3 separate regions of the Homo sapiens genome follow, and all the other regions are linked to region 1. Evidence: promoter capture Hi-C in 16 types of primary human blood cells and fetal thymus (Javierre and others, 2016). All regions are on one chromosome and are shown on one strand. The core of a region is centred on a gene start or on the middle of the fragment in contact, and the rest is flanking DNA. Distances in the headings are between cores, read along the strand shown. Region 1 holds the start of EXO1 (exonuclease 1). Region 2 overlaps FH (fumarate hydratase). Region 3 overlaps KMO (kynurenine 3-monooxygenase).

What was found. Contacts are between HindIII fragments. The CHiCAGO score rates a contact against its expected background, and 5 or more counts as called.
Region 2: a fragment that was not itself captured here is called in contact with the fragment with the promoter of EXO1 in region 1 in 2 of 17 cell types (neutrophils and monocytes); the score reaches 5.9 in neutrophils.
Region 3: a contact is called between a fragment that was not itself captured here and the fragment with the promoter of EXO1 in region 1, in 7 of 17 cell types (activated CD4 T cells, naive B cells, non-activated CD4 T cells and 4 more). The highest score is 8.7, in activated CD4 T cells.

Annotation. Positions count from the first base shown.
Region 1 is chr1:241,846,326-241,850,574 of GRCh38, forward strand. It overlaps EXO1 (exonuclease 1), which reads left to right and starts at 1,879. Exons shown (of 16, transcript NM_130398.4): 1 at 1,879-2,028; 2 at 2,406-2,702; 3 at 2,787-2,891; 4 at 4,084-4,249. The coding sequence starts at 4,101. RefSeq lists an enhancer at 1,575-1,914. The HindIII fragment of the contact is 5,044 bases long and covers 1-3,998 here.
Region 2 is chr1:241,498,442-241,502,007 of GRCh38, forward strand. It overlaps FH (fumarate hydratase), which reads right to left. Exons shown (of 10, transcript NM_000143.4): 9 at 1,996-2,149. Among named protein-coding and RNA genes, the nearest start is that of FH, 20 kb to the right of the region's middle. The HindIII fragment of the contact is 3,610 bases long and covers 385-3,566 here.
Region 3 is chr1:241,552,911-241,557,159 of GRCh38, forward strand. It overlaps KMO (kynurenine 3-monooxygenase), which reads left to right. Exons shown (of 15, transcript NM_003679.5): 5 at 2,702-2,750. Among named protein-coding and RNA genes, the nearest start is that of KMO, 23 kb to the left of the region's middle. The HindIII fragment of the contact is 1,781 bases long and covers 808-2,588 here.

The DNA.
Region 1 (4,249 bases), core at 629-3,128:
AATATGAGAAGTGTCAGGACCAAAGAGCCATCACAGAATGCTTGTGCATATCAAACAAATATCTAACTTAGGGAAGACATTTGGAAACTGGTAACATTGGAACTGAGTCTTAAGCTGGAAACATATGGGATATACCATTTATTTCAGCATTTAATAACATGCCATCATGATTTGTGACTTAACTGTCTCATAAACATGTGTTTTGTCTACAGAACTAGATCTTAAGTTCCTTGAAGACACAGGACATCTCTTTATGCCTCCATGCCACCTGGAACTGACAGGCACACTTAAGGCAGTAGTAAATTACTGCACACATTGATGCAAATGGTTTTGTCCTCCCAAAGAGTAAAAATATTCTGTTAGTGAAATGTATTGTAACTAGTGTTTTCTTTTCCAATTTTAGTCTTTGAACACTGCAGCCAAGAATACAGTTTGAAACCTTGGGAGTCAAATTCACAGTAAATACATGAGCCGTTCACAGTGCAGCAAACTCTCATGTTAGTTTTATGACAGATCCAGTGACACTGGAATGGACACCTTTTTGATTTTGGGGTTCCTTCCTAAGACCCCCATGTGTGATATATTCATGGTTGGATTCTAGGTACTGAAGCAGTTACTACAGCTGGATAGTCCAATGAGTGTAAGAAGGCTTCTCTACAAACACATGCTGCCCACATCGAAGTTCCTCTTTAATCTACTGCAGTTTGAAATTGTCCCCCACTTTCTCCAAGAGTCCACTCCAAGCTAGTTTAGGGTTAGGTCTACCATAGCCTTTGGAAGAGGGAGGGAAGATAACTTTTCTCATCTCTCCTAGTCCCAGCTCTAAAGACCAGAACCAGGGAGAAAGCAACACAGCTTTTCCAAACACATTCCCCAAATGTGGCACCTTTTCAACAATTTTAGTAACAAATTTAAGGCATCATAGATGCCTTTAAAATTGGCATGATAGATGTTAGAGTGATCATAAAAAGACTTTAAAAGAGGAAAAGATGTAAAGAACGTAATCAAATGGGGAGCATGTTTAACAATGTGCTCACTTCTTCCCCTTCAATTCCTTGAATTGAGTCTGCATTATCATTCCTATTGATCTTTGAGCCCAGAACATTACTTTGTGGTCTGGCCTAAGGTTTCTTCCAATTTTTTAAATTACAATATCCCTAAGAGGACAGCGACGAGGTCTGGGGTGTTATGAGGATTGGAAACCTAGCCACAAGTGACCATGAAAGTCCAAAATGCCTCTAAAGTCTTTGTCTCTAAGGCCCATTTTCAAGGTCTTGTTATATAGCTAATTTTTCCCCGACTTATGTCAAAAATAAACGAAGCTGGGTTCTAGGTAAAATGGTAGGGGCAGATTTTAATCACTACTACTACTGCAATGGGGAAAAGAACCCAGCGTGAACTGAATTCAATTTCGATTTGTAGAGGCAACCGGGCGTTTTAAAGAGAATGAAGGAATTAGGATGGGACTGATGACGCCGAGGGGGACTGAGCAACTTTTTCAGGTTTGAAAAGCCTCAACATCAACGCGCGACGGCGCTCTTTCAACATCAGCCTCCAGAACTGGGGCTGCAGCCAGGAGGGAACTACAACGCCCAGCAGCCCCGGCGGGTGTAAACACTCCCAACTTCCGAGGCGGTGCTCACCATCGGCCATCAGCGCCAGTGCCACTCGCGCCCTCAAGAAGCCGCACGGAGTTCGGGCCGGCAGCAGCGGCTGCAGTCGTATGGCAGTGAGCCGCTGTCTACCCAGCGAGACGGAGAGCTCAGGACGCAACCCTATGAGTTGGAAGCCGCAGGAGGCGGAACCGGGTTGCGGGATACGCGTTGACGTCACATCCTCTGGGCGGGGCCGCAAGGAACCCGCGCAAATTGAAAGGTCAGCCTTTCGCGCGCTGTGTAGGCAAGTTACCCGTGTTCTGCGTTGCCGGCCGTGGGTGCTCTGGCCACAGTGAGTTAGGGGCGTCGGAGCGGGTTTCTCCAACCGCAATCGGCTCCGCTCAAGGGGAGGAGGAGAGTCCCTTCTCGGAAGGTGAGAGGAGCGGGCTGTGCGGAGGCTAATGGGTGGGTTCCCTTGGGGGTCGACCTGCGCGTCACCTCCGACCCTCCTCTCGGGATTCGGGTCTTCCAGGAAGGGAAGGAGAGGGTCTGGCGTGATCTTCCCAACCCAACAGCGGAGCCCTTAGCCTGAGTGGAGTATGTGTTTTGTTCCGAGGGGACGTCTGGCAACCAGAGGTCTGCAGTTCAGTGAACGGAGGGAGATAAGAGAGCAGACGATTCCGGGCTGGAGCAGGCGCCAGGGTTGCCAGACTTACCTCATTTTTCCGCAGAAGCTGGCAGTCCAGGTTTTACATGCAATCTCTCCACCTTTAAATGTTGACAAGTACATTTTCCCATAATATTTTGCAGGCCTAAGGAAACGTGTCGTCTGGAATGGGCTTGGGGGCCACGCCTGCACATCTCCGCGAGACAGAGGGATAAAGTGAAGATGGTGCTGTTATTGTTACCTCGAGTGCCACATGCGACCTCTGAGATATGTACACAGTCATTCTTACTATCGCACTCAGCCATTCTTACTACGCTAAAGAAGAAATAATTATTCGAGGATATTTGCCTGGCCCAGAAGAAACTTATGTAAATTTCATGAACTATTATATCCGTTTTCCTCGGAGTGAGAGAAAACTCTTTTTAGATATCATCTGAGAGGTAAGAGACTGTTTTTCTGAAACTGTGGCTTGAGGACCACCTGCATCCAGATTAACTGCTTTGTTTAAAATTCATTCACAGCAGAACTAGTGAATCCCAGTCACTGAGTGGAGTTGAGAGTCTAAGAACCTCTGAAATTTGAGAACTGCTGGACCAGAGCCTTTAGAGCTCTGATAAGGTGTCAACAGGGTAAAGCTGCCTCCTGATCCTGTACTTTCTTTCTTCCTTTCCTTCCAAACTTAACGTTTGATAGGAGAGATTTGTATTATGAAATGCTAAGCAACTGCTCAGTGCCCATTACTGACTTTTTATTGTAGAGTGGGGGGAGGTCGTTTCATCAGAAAGGGTTGTGACAGTTCCAGAATCTCTGTATAGAAAGGGCTTAGGGGGCTGCAACCGGAATGGAAGGGGGTGGAAAGTTAAAGCATTTGTCTTGAAGCTGTATTTGCATAGCAGACGCAGTTTCACAGTTCTTTAGGGTAGCTTTCAGAGAGGCTGATGGAGTTGCCCCTGGGCGCCACCACTGTTTATTACCAGAATGTTCGTGCTTAGAATAATGCGTTCTAATAGCAGTGAATTTCAGTCCTAAAAAAGTACAGGATCATTTCTGTAATTCTTTTTGAATTTTTCCTTTGTTTTTTAATTGAAATACTTACCTTCCTACAAACTGTTTTGAGTTTCTACTCCTATTTGAATTTGCACGTTGACCCTTATGATTAATGCCCTTTGTAGAGGCAATGCGATGCCATCGCATGCATGGTTTTGTTTGTGCCTGGCTCCTTGAAGCATGTGTCAGGAGTGAAAGTGCAAAAGCACTTTGGAAAGACTAAACAAACAATAAGCAACAGTCAAGTGGCATTAGAGGTAGTATTAGTGATTAATGTAAATTCTACCCTATGGAAATTGTTTGATAGGGAGGAGCCCAGCTAAAATATTAAAGAGCAGTGATTCTTGAATATCTGAACAATTTCTGGCCGGGCGCGGTGGCTCACGCCTGTAATCCCAGCACTTTGGGAGGCCGAGGCGGGCGGATCACGAGTTCAGGAGATCGAGACCATCCTGGCTAACATGGTGAAACCCCGTCTCTACTAAAAATACAAAAAATTAGCCGGGCGCGGTGGCGGGCGCCTGTAGTCCCAGCTACTGGGAAGGCTGAGGCAGGAGAATGGCGTGAACCCGGGAGGCGGAGCTTGCAGTGAGCCGATATAGGCCACTGCAGTCCCTCCTGGGCGAAAGAGCGAGACTCCGTCTCAAAAAAAAAAAAAAACAACAAACCAATTTCTGCATTGGACTCCAAGCTTTCTCTTCATTTGTCTAAGATGTTTTAATAAATGTATTTTTCTTTAAATATTACTGTTCTCCCTGTCTCTTTTCATATCAGGTAGTTAATTTGGCACCATGGGGATACAGGGATTGCTACAATTTATCAAAGAAGCTTCAGAACCCATCCATGTGAGGAAGTATAAAGGGCAGGTAGTAGCTGTGGATACATATTGCTGGCTTCACAAAGGAGCTATTGCTTGTGCTGAAAAACTAGCCAAAGGTGA
Region 2 (3,566 bases), core at 940-3,439, 350 kb before region 1:
GTGAGGCAGGCGCAGGCAGGGCCTGGGGAGGGGTGCCTCCAGAGCTGCTTCCAATGGCTCTTCTCTATGTGGCTCTCCACTGCAATGGCTTCTATACCCTGGCCTCCTCCCAGACATTACAGGGACACAAATAGGGAGTCTGGGCAGAAATACAGACTGCACAAAAGATCACAGGCATACTGTTTACTTCAGAGTTATTTGCTTTTCAAATTAATAAAAGTGGGGGCAGGGCAGTTCTGCAAGCTGTCTTAACATATATATATATATATATATATATATATATATATATATATATATATATGTCAAGAAGAAAAAGCAGGAATGAAAATGAAACCAATGCGGGAGAAAAAAAACAAGATCAGAGAAATATGACCAAAAGGAAGAAGCTTGCTGAGGCAGTATACATCATCAATAAGATGGCATGTGTCAATATGCAATTATTAATCAGCTATAAAAGAAAGCATGGGCATAGTTACTTTTATTACTTAACTGAATTTGTGAATGCTAAATATGTTGAAAAGGGCATTTATTGATCTGAAAGGGCATTTATTGATGCCATTTACTGAAAAGGGCATCTTTCTTAAAGCAGAAATGCTTTGAGAAAGAATTTGCATGTTAAACTCTTGAGATCAATATATATCCAGTACTTTTATTTTAATAATGGCTTTAAAGTCTAAGCATTTCAGCTGTCAAGTCCAACAAGACACTATTGGCAACCAGCCTGGTACATAATGAGAATATAGGGAACCCATGATTCAGAGGGTTGTAAGGCTCACACCAAGTCAACTAGTGAGGTGGTGTTGACCCATCTCATTCTCATATGGCCTCTAACAATTCTTTTTATGTCACAATAAGTTGATTCCAATAAAGATTTGCCAATCATTCAACTTTAGGAGACACCTCTAATTTAAAGTTTTGGTAACACATTCTGAAGTAAAGATCTGATGAAAACTGCTCACACGAGCCTCTGGGTTCCCCTTTGTGTTTTTCCAGATGTAGTTGATGTACCATAATTTTAAATGGATCAAACATTATTACCAATCTCAATGCCACACCAAAAAACTGATATCATACTGGGCTCAGAGCTACCTAAAAGAGTCAAATGAGCTCTAATTTTAAAAAACTGTAATTATAGCTTGATGTGAAACCAGGAATATAAAATTTGCCTTGAAAGTTCAAGATTATAGAAGAAGCAGTAGCCATATTATGCCAAATAAGTGAATCATAACTTGTTCTATAACAGAAAGGCAGAAAATATATTAACCTCTGCTTAGCAGAAAGGAAGAATGGGTAAAAGGCTTTTAACACATCATAATATAATGCAACATAATGCCTCAAAATCTACAAAAGTGTAAACAGTTTATTTAATGGAGATCTCTATGGTCAGTCTACTACCCAAATCTGTATGTTTGATTCTACATAATGAAATATTTACAGTTCCAAAAAAGACTTATAATACAATAGCATGGTTTTAGACAAAATATTTGCATTTTCCTTCCTCCCTTTCACTATAAGCAATGAATACATAAACTTTTTCTTTTAATTGTAACTTTCCATTTCTGAATTGAATAAAACAACAAAATTAAAGCATTGTAGAGATCTAGGGAAGGTAGAAAAATGAGTTCATTCAATGTTGCTAATCAGCAGTGCCACCTAGTGACATTACCCACTGAAGGTCTTACAAATAACCTTCCCCAATGGTCTGCATAGAATATTTGGCGTCTGAATTCCATTAAAATCAAAATAAGTTTGAACTACTACTTCTCGATACATTTCAAATAAAATGAGGCATAATAGATCTAGTTTTGAAAGAACTATGACACCATACAAGTTATATAGTACCTTTCCACACAATTTCAAATATTTTGAGATTTTACTAAAACCATATTCAAAAGAAATTTGCTGTTCTCAAACACTGATCCACTTGTCTCTTAAAAATGGTTTAGCTTTTTAATTTTGCATTCAAAATGATATTATTATTCCTTAAACACTTACCTATATGAGGATTGAGAGCTGTCACCAACATTAGAGACTCATTCATCAGCTTGTTGATCCTTTCTGTATTGGCCTGGATTCCCACCACGCAGTTTTCTGTAAAGGAAACTGAAGCATCCCCCAGCAGCCTGGCTGAGTGTAACACATTTTTAATCTTTGAGTGAGTGAGAGAGAGAGAGAGAGAGAGAGAGAGAGAGAGAGAGACATTACTAAGGCAACATGTTTTTTGTCCAATAACATATTATTTTCTGGTTGACAGTAAATATACAATTCAATAAACATATAGATCTTCTACAAATTTTAAGGCACTATAACCAAGGAAACAAATGTGAAAGAAAGCATGAACATTTGAAGGCACAGAAATCTAAAAAAGGTGAAAAAGACATAAATACAAATGACTAAAACACAAAATAGCCCATAGCAAGTATTTAAAACAGAGGTCTGAAGTGTTAGAGACCATAGAGAAAGAGAAATTAACTCCAGTTGTCGGAACTGGTGAAATCCTATTTTATGGAGAGGACTTGGCCAGAGAAGGAAAAAGAATCTTCCACGCAGAAGGAAGAGGAGCAAAGATGCAGAGGTTCGAAAGTTCAGTATGAGTGTGAGGCAATTAGTAAAGTCAGGGCAAAATCTAATGATCACCAAATTTCTAGGTTTTCTATGCTTTAACGAATACTCCAGTCACTGTAAAATAACTTTTCATATAATATTAAAAAACAGTATAAAATCAATTAGTTTGTTTTGGCTTTGTTGGCAACATTTCCAATATTTATTAAGATATATCCAAATCCTAATATCCTCTGGTCTAAAACTCCGGTCTGAAAACTAGACTTCCAACAATGGACTCTAAGACATATAATCTAAGTTTTAATTTGCTACTAATGACCTTGTAATAAGGCAAATATTGATTATCTTTATTTTACATTAAAAATAAAATTTTAAAAAGATTAACAAGGCATTTATTGTTATGCACCTATAAATGCTGGGTATCTCGTGTTAACTGTTTGGAATCTGACCTGAGAGCAAAATTTTAACAGTCTGAGTTCTGCTCTGGCCTGTGTTTTTATTTACCACTAGGATATACATTCCATGAGAGCAAGAAATCTGTCTTTTCATTGCTCTATCTCTATTATGCATCCAGTACAGTGCCTGATAGAAAATGGTACTCAATAAATATTTAGTGAATATATTAAATATACTCCATATTTGTCATTTGCATATTCTTATAAAATTAAAATTAGAATTTAGAAGAGATTCCAAGAGAAAGTAAGCCCCTACTCTACTTTAGCTATAACACTTTGTCCAAATGAAGGACTCTAAATTATGGCAACAGCTCCACTATCTGCAGCTGAGGAAACTGATGAGAAATGGCGCGATGCATCTATCGATCTTCGTAAAGACGAAAGAAAAAGAACGGTTTGGGTGGACACAATGTTTTCAAGTATGTGGAAAGGTAAAGCCAGACAATGAAACGAAGTCTGACAGGGGGCAGAAGAAGAACTGGTGAAAAAATGTTCAAGAAAGCAGGGATGAAGAATGTTTCAAGGAGGGACAGTCAACATCAACTATTA
Region 3 (4,249 bases), core at 448-2,947, 290 kb before region 1:
TACAGAGCAGGTCAGAGCTCCTCAGTTCTTAATCCTAACCTAACCTCTTATGCTCAAAATAGAGAAATGGCTCCCCCTTAGTAGAAAACATTCTCATTTGAAGGTATTGAGAATAGATAAAATAAACTTTTTTTCTAATATGTCTGAGGTAGTCAGTACTACAACTAATGTCTTACAGATCTCCAAAGGATATATCTAACCTTTTTTAGGTTTTACTATTATCTTTTTGGTTACAGAGGCCACTTTATAGCGCTTGACTTGTTTATTCTTATTTATTCTTCATCAGATCAATCTTGTAGAATTAAATATTGGAGAAGTAAGACTTGATGGGAACGACTCAAATATTTGGTTATGATATAATACTGTCCAAAGATATGGAGTAGACTAGAAAGGGACATTCTGGTGTTCCTGCAGGGATGACAAGTCTATCAGTTCCCAGATGACTGATGTGGAAAGAAAATATTTTCCCCATGTAAATTAATCTTCATAATTTGGGCCAAGCACAGTGGCTGACACCTGTAATCCCAGAACTTTGGGAGGCCAAGGTAGGTGGATTGCTTGAGCCCAGGAGTTCAAAACCAGCCTGGGCAACATGGCAAGACCCTGTTTCTATAAAAAAATTTAAAAATTAGCCGGGCATGGTGGCATGGGCCTGTACTCCCAGCAACTTGGGAGACTTAAGGTGGGAAGATCGCTTGAGCCCGGGAGGTTGAGGCTGCAGTGAGCCATGATCACACCACTACACTCCAGCCTGGGGAACAGCAAGACCCTGTCTCAAAAATTTTTTAAAAAATTAAAAATTAAAAAAGCTTTATAATTTGAATGTTTCCTAACATAATTTAAATAGCAAGTTTGATTTCTGTTGAAATACAGTCTATTAATAACCTAGCTTTGAGGCAGAGAATGAAGATGTTTCTGTTCATTTTAAATTATACAAAGACCAGAATTTCCTCTTCAGTCATTGCCACTGACCAAGTTATTTTTACACCAAGTATAGATTTAGCTGCCAATGTATACTTCTACTTTTGGATGAGGTGAAGATTTATAAATTAGTGTATATGTGTTAAAAATATTTGTTATGTCCCATAATTTGGAAAATTATATGCTTTAAAGTTTTAAAGAATAGATTCACCCTGAATTACCAGCTTGCATTATGACTTTAATGGGCCCCAGGTGGGCACTTTGGCCTCCATGGGCTCCTTTTCTAGAAAAAGGATAAATATTAAAAATTAGATTTTATGGGTTCATTGGTATAAAGATTAATAAAATCCAGGCCAGATTTATTATTACATATTTTTTATTACATAATACTTTTCTTTCCTTCCTTCCTTCCTTCCTTCCTTCCTTCCTTCCTTCCTTCCTTCCTTCCTTCCTCCCTTCTTTCTTTCTAGACAGAGTCTCACTCACTCTGTCATCCAGGCTGAAGTGCAGTAATGTGATCTCGGCTCACTGCAACTTAGGCCTCTCGGGTTCAAGCAGTCCTGCCTCAGCTTCCTGTGACTACAGGCACGCGCCACCAGACCCGGCTTGTTTTTGTATTTTTAGTAGAGACGGGGTTTCGCCATGTTGGCCAGGCTGGTCTTAAACTCCTGACCTCAAGTGATCAGCTTGCCTCAGCCTCACAAAGTGCTGGGATTACAGGGATAAGCCACCATGCCTGGCCACTTTTTTCCTCCTGATTTAAAAATAAACTAAAATCAAAACATTTTTACAATACGTTTAAGAGTCCATAAAAATGTTTTGATTTTAGTTTATTTTTAAGTCAGGAGGAAAAAAGTGGCCGGGCGCTGTGGCTCATCCCTGTAATCCCAGCACTTTGGGTGGCCAAGGTCGGTGGATCACCTGAGGTTAGAAGTTCGAGACCAGGCTGGCCAACATGGCAAAACCCCATTTCTACTAAAAATACAAAAAAAAAAAAAAAATTAGCTGAGTGTGGTGGCAGGCACCTGTAATCCCAGCTAGTTGGGAAGCTGAGGCAGGAGAATCACTTGAACCTGGAAGGTGGAGGTTGCAGTGAGCTGAGATCTCACCATTGCACTCCAACCTGGGCAACAGAGCAAGACTCTGTTTCAAAAAAAAAAAAAAGTATTGTACGCCCATAGGCGCTGTGTCTACCTTGCCTCAAGGGAGGGTCAGCTTTGCTGAATTGTCCTATAAAGTCAGAAACAACCAACACATGTTCCATGCAAGGACTGGTCCTATTCCTATCAATCTTCATCCCTGCCACAACCAACACACACACACACGCGTGCACACACACACACTTTTTACATTGAAATGAAATCCTTCAAAGTTGTCTCTTCAGGAAATAGCACTTTGATTCTAGTGATACTGTCATGACTGAAGTTTTTCTAAGAGCTAAATTTGGAGACCTAAGCTGAAAATATTACATTTATGATTTGTTTTTAAAACAGAACTCTCTTGATGAAAATTATATTTTAGCTACAAGAGAAGGATTTGATTTTTAAAGTATTAAACTTTGAAAAAGCCTAAGTGTAAACTTGGATATTGTATTATATGTGTTTGTTTAAAGTGATCTTTTTTAACAAAAAAATCAAAGGTCACTTAGCGAAATGGTTATAAAACTAAGCTTGCAACCCTCTGCTAAATAATAAATATGTTTTATTGCTGAGTGAATAACTTAGAATTATATTTGTCCATTCACCAGAAACAAACAGTATCTACTCTACTTTTCTTGCAGTATATTCTTTCTGTAAGCAGAGAAAATCTAAACAAGGATCTATTGACTGGTAAGTCTAATGTTTGATTCATCAGTTGTCATTTTGAGTAAAGCACATGACACTAATCTTGTCATATGATTTATTGGATTTGTTTGCTGCTCCTTTTTATGGGTTATGAAGAGCAAGACTATGTACACTACAAAGTCCTTCTTGAAGCTAGGTCTGATAGCTCATGCCTGTAATCCCAGCACTCTGAAAGGCTGAGGCCAGGATCGCTTGAGTCCAGGAATTTGAGACCCGCCTGGGCAACATGGAGAGACGCTATCACTACAAAGAATAAAAAATTAGCTGGGTGTAGAAGCGTGTACCTATAGTCCCAGCTACTCAAGAGCCTGAGGTGGAAGGATCACTTGAGCCAGGGAGGTCGAGGCTACAGTGAGATATGAGTGATGTGATTGTGCCACTGCACTCCCAGCCTGGGCAACAGAGTGAGACCCTGTCTCAAAAAAAGAAATAAATAAATGAAGTCCTTCTTGAAAATATCAATTGCCTAAAGTTTTTAGAGACGAAGTCTTGCTGTCACCCAGACTGATGTGCCATGGTGCAATCATGGCTCACTGTAACTTCGAAATCCTGTGCTCAAGCTATCTTCCCACCTTGGCCACCCGAGAAGCTGGGACTACAGGCACATGCTACCACATACGACCAATTTTTTTACATTTTTTTTAAAGGCAGAGTCTTTCTATGTTGTCCAGGTTGGTCTTGAACTCCTGGCTCAAGTGATTCTCCCACCTCAGACTCCAGAGTAGCTGGGATTACAGGTGCTAGCACCCACTTCACTGACAATTCTCTGAATTGAAATCATTTGTTCAACATATACTGAATCCCTATGGTCTCCTAGGCACTGAGTGAATGAGTGTTCACGCTGATGAAGAACTCACACTCTAATGGAACGACAGATAAACTCAAACAATTTGCAAAGTGACACAATTAGATTTGCCTTTTGGGCCAGGCGTGGTGGCTCACGCCTGTAATCCCAGCACATTGGGAGGCCGAGGCAGGCGGATCACAAGGTCAGGAGTTTGAGACCAGCCTGGCCAATATGGTGAAACCCTGTATCTACTAAAAATACAAAAAGAAAAAAAAAATTAGCTGAGCGTGGTGGCACATGCCGGTAATCCCAGCTACTCGGGAGGCTGAGGCAGGAGAATTGCTTGAACCCAGGAGGCGGAGGTTGCAGTGAGCCGAGATCATGCCACTGCCCTCCAGCCTGGCTGACAGAGCGAGACTCAGTCCCAATAAAATAATAATAATAATAATAATAATAAAGATTTGTCTTTTAGAGAGATGAAAAGCCATAGTGTGAAGACTGAGAAAGGGTTGCAATCTTCAAGGCATTTCCATAATCTCTGGGCACAGAAGGGCCCAAGAATAAAGCTATAGTAATGTGGCTGGAGAGTAGAGTGTAGATTCATGATATTTGTAAGAGAACAAATCGAGAGATAGGGGATATAGAAAGTTGAGAAAGAGAAAGGTGTAAATAGAACCCTGAAGTTGTGAATTTGTGT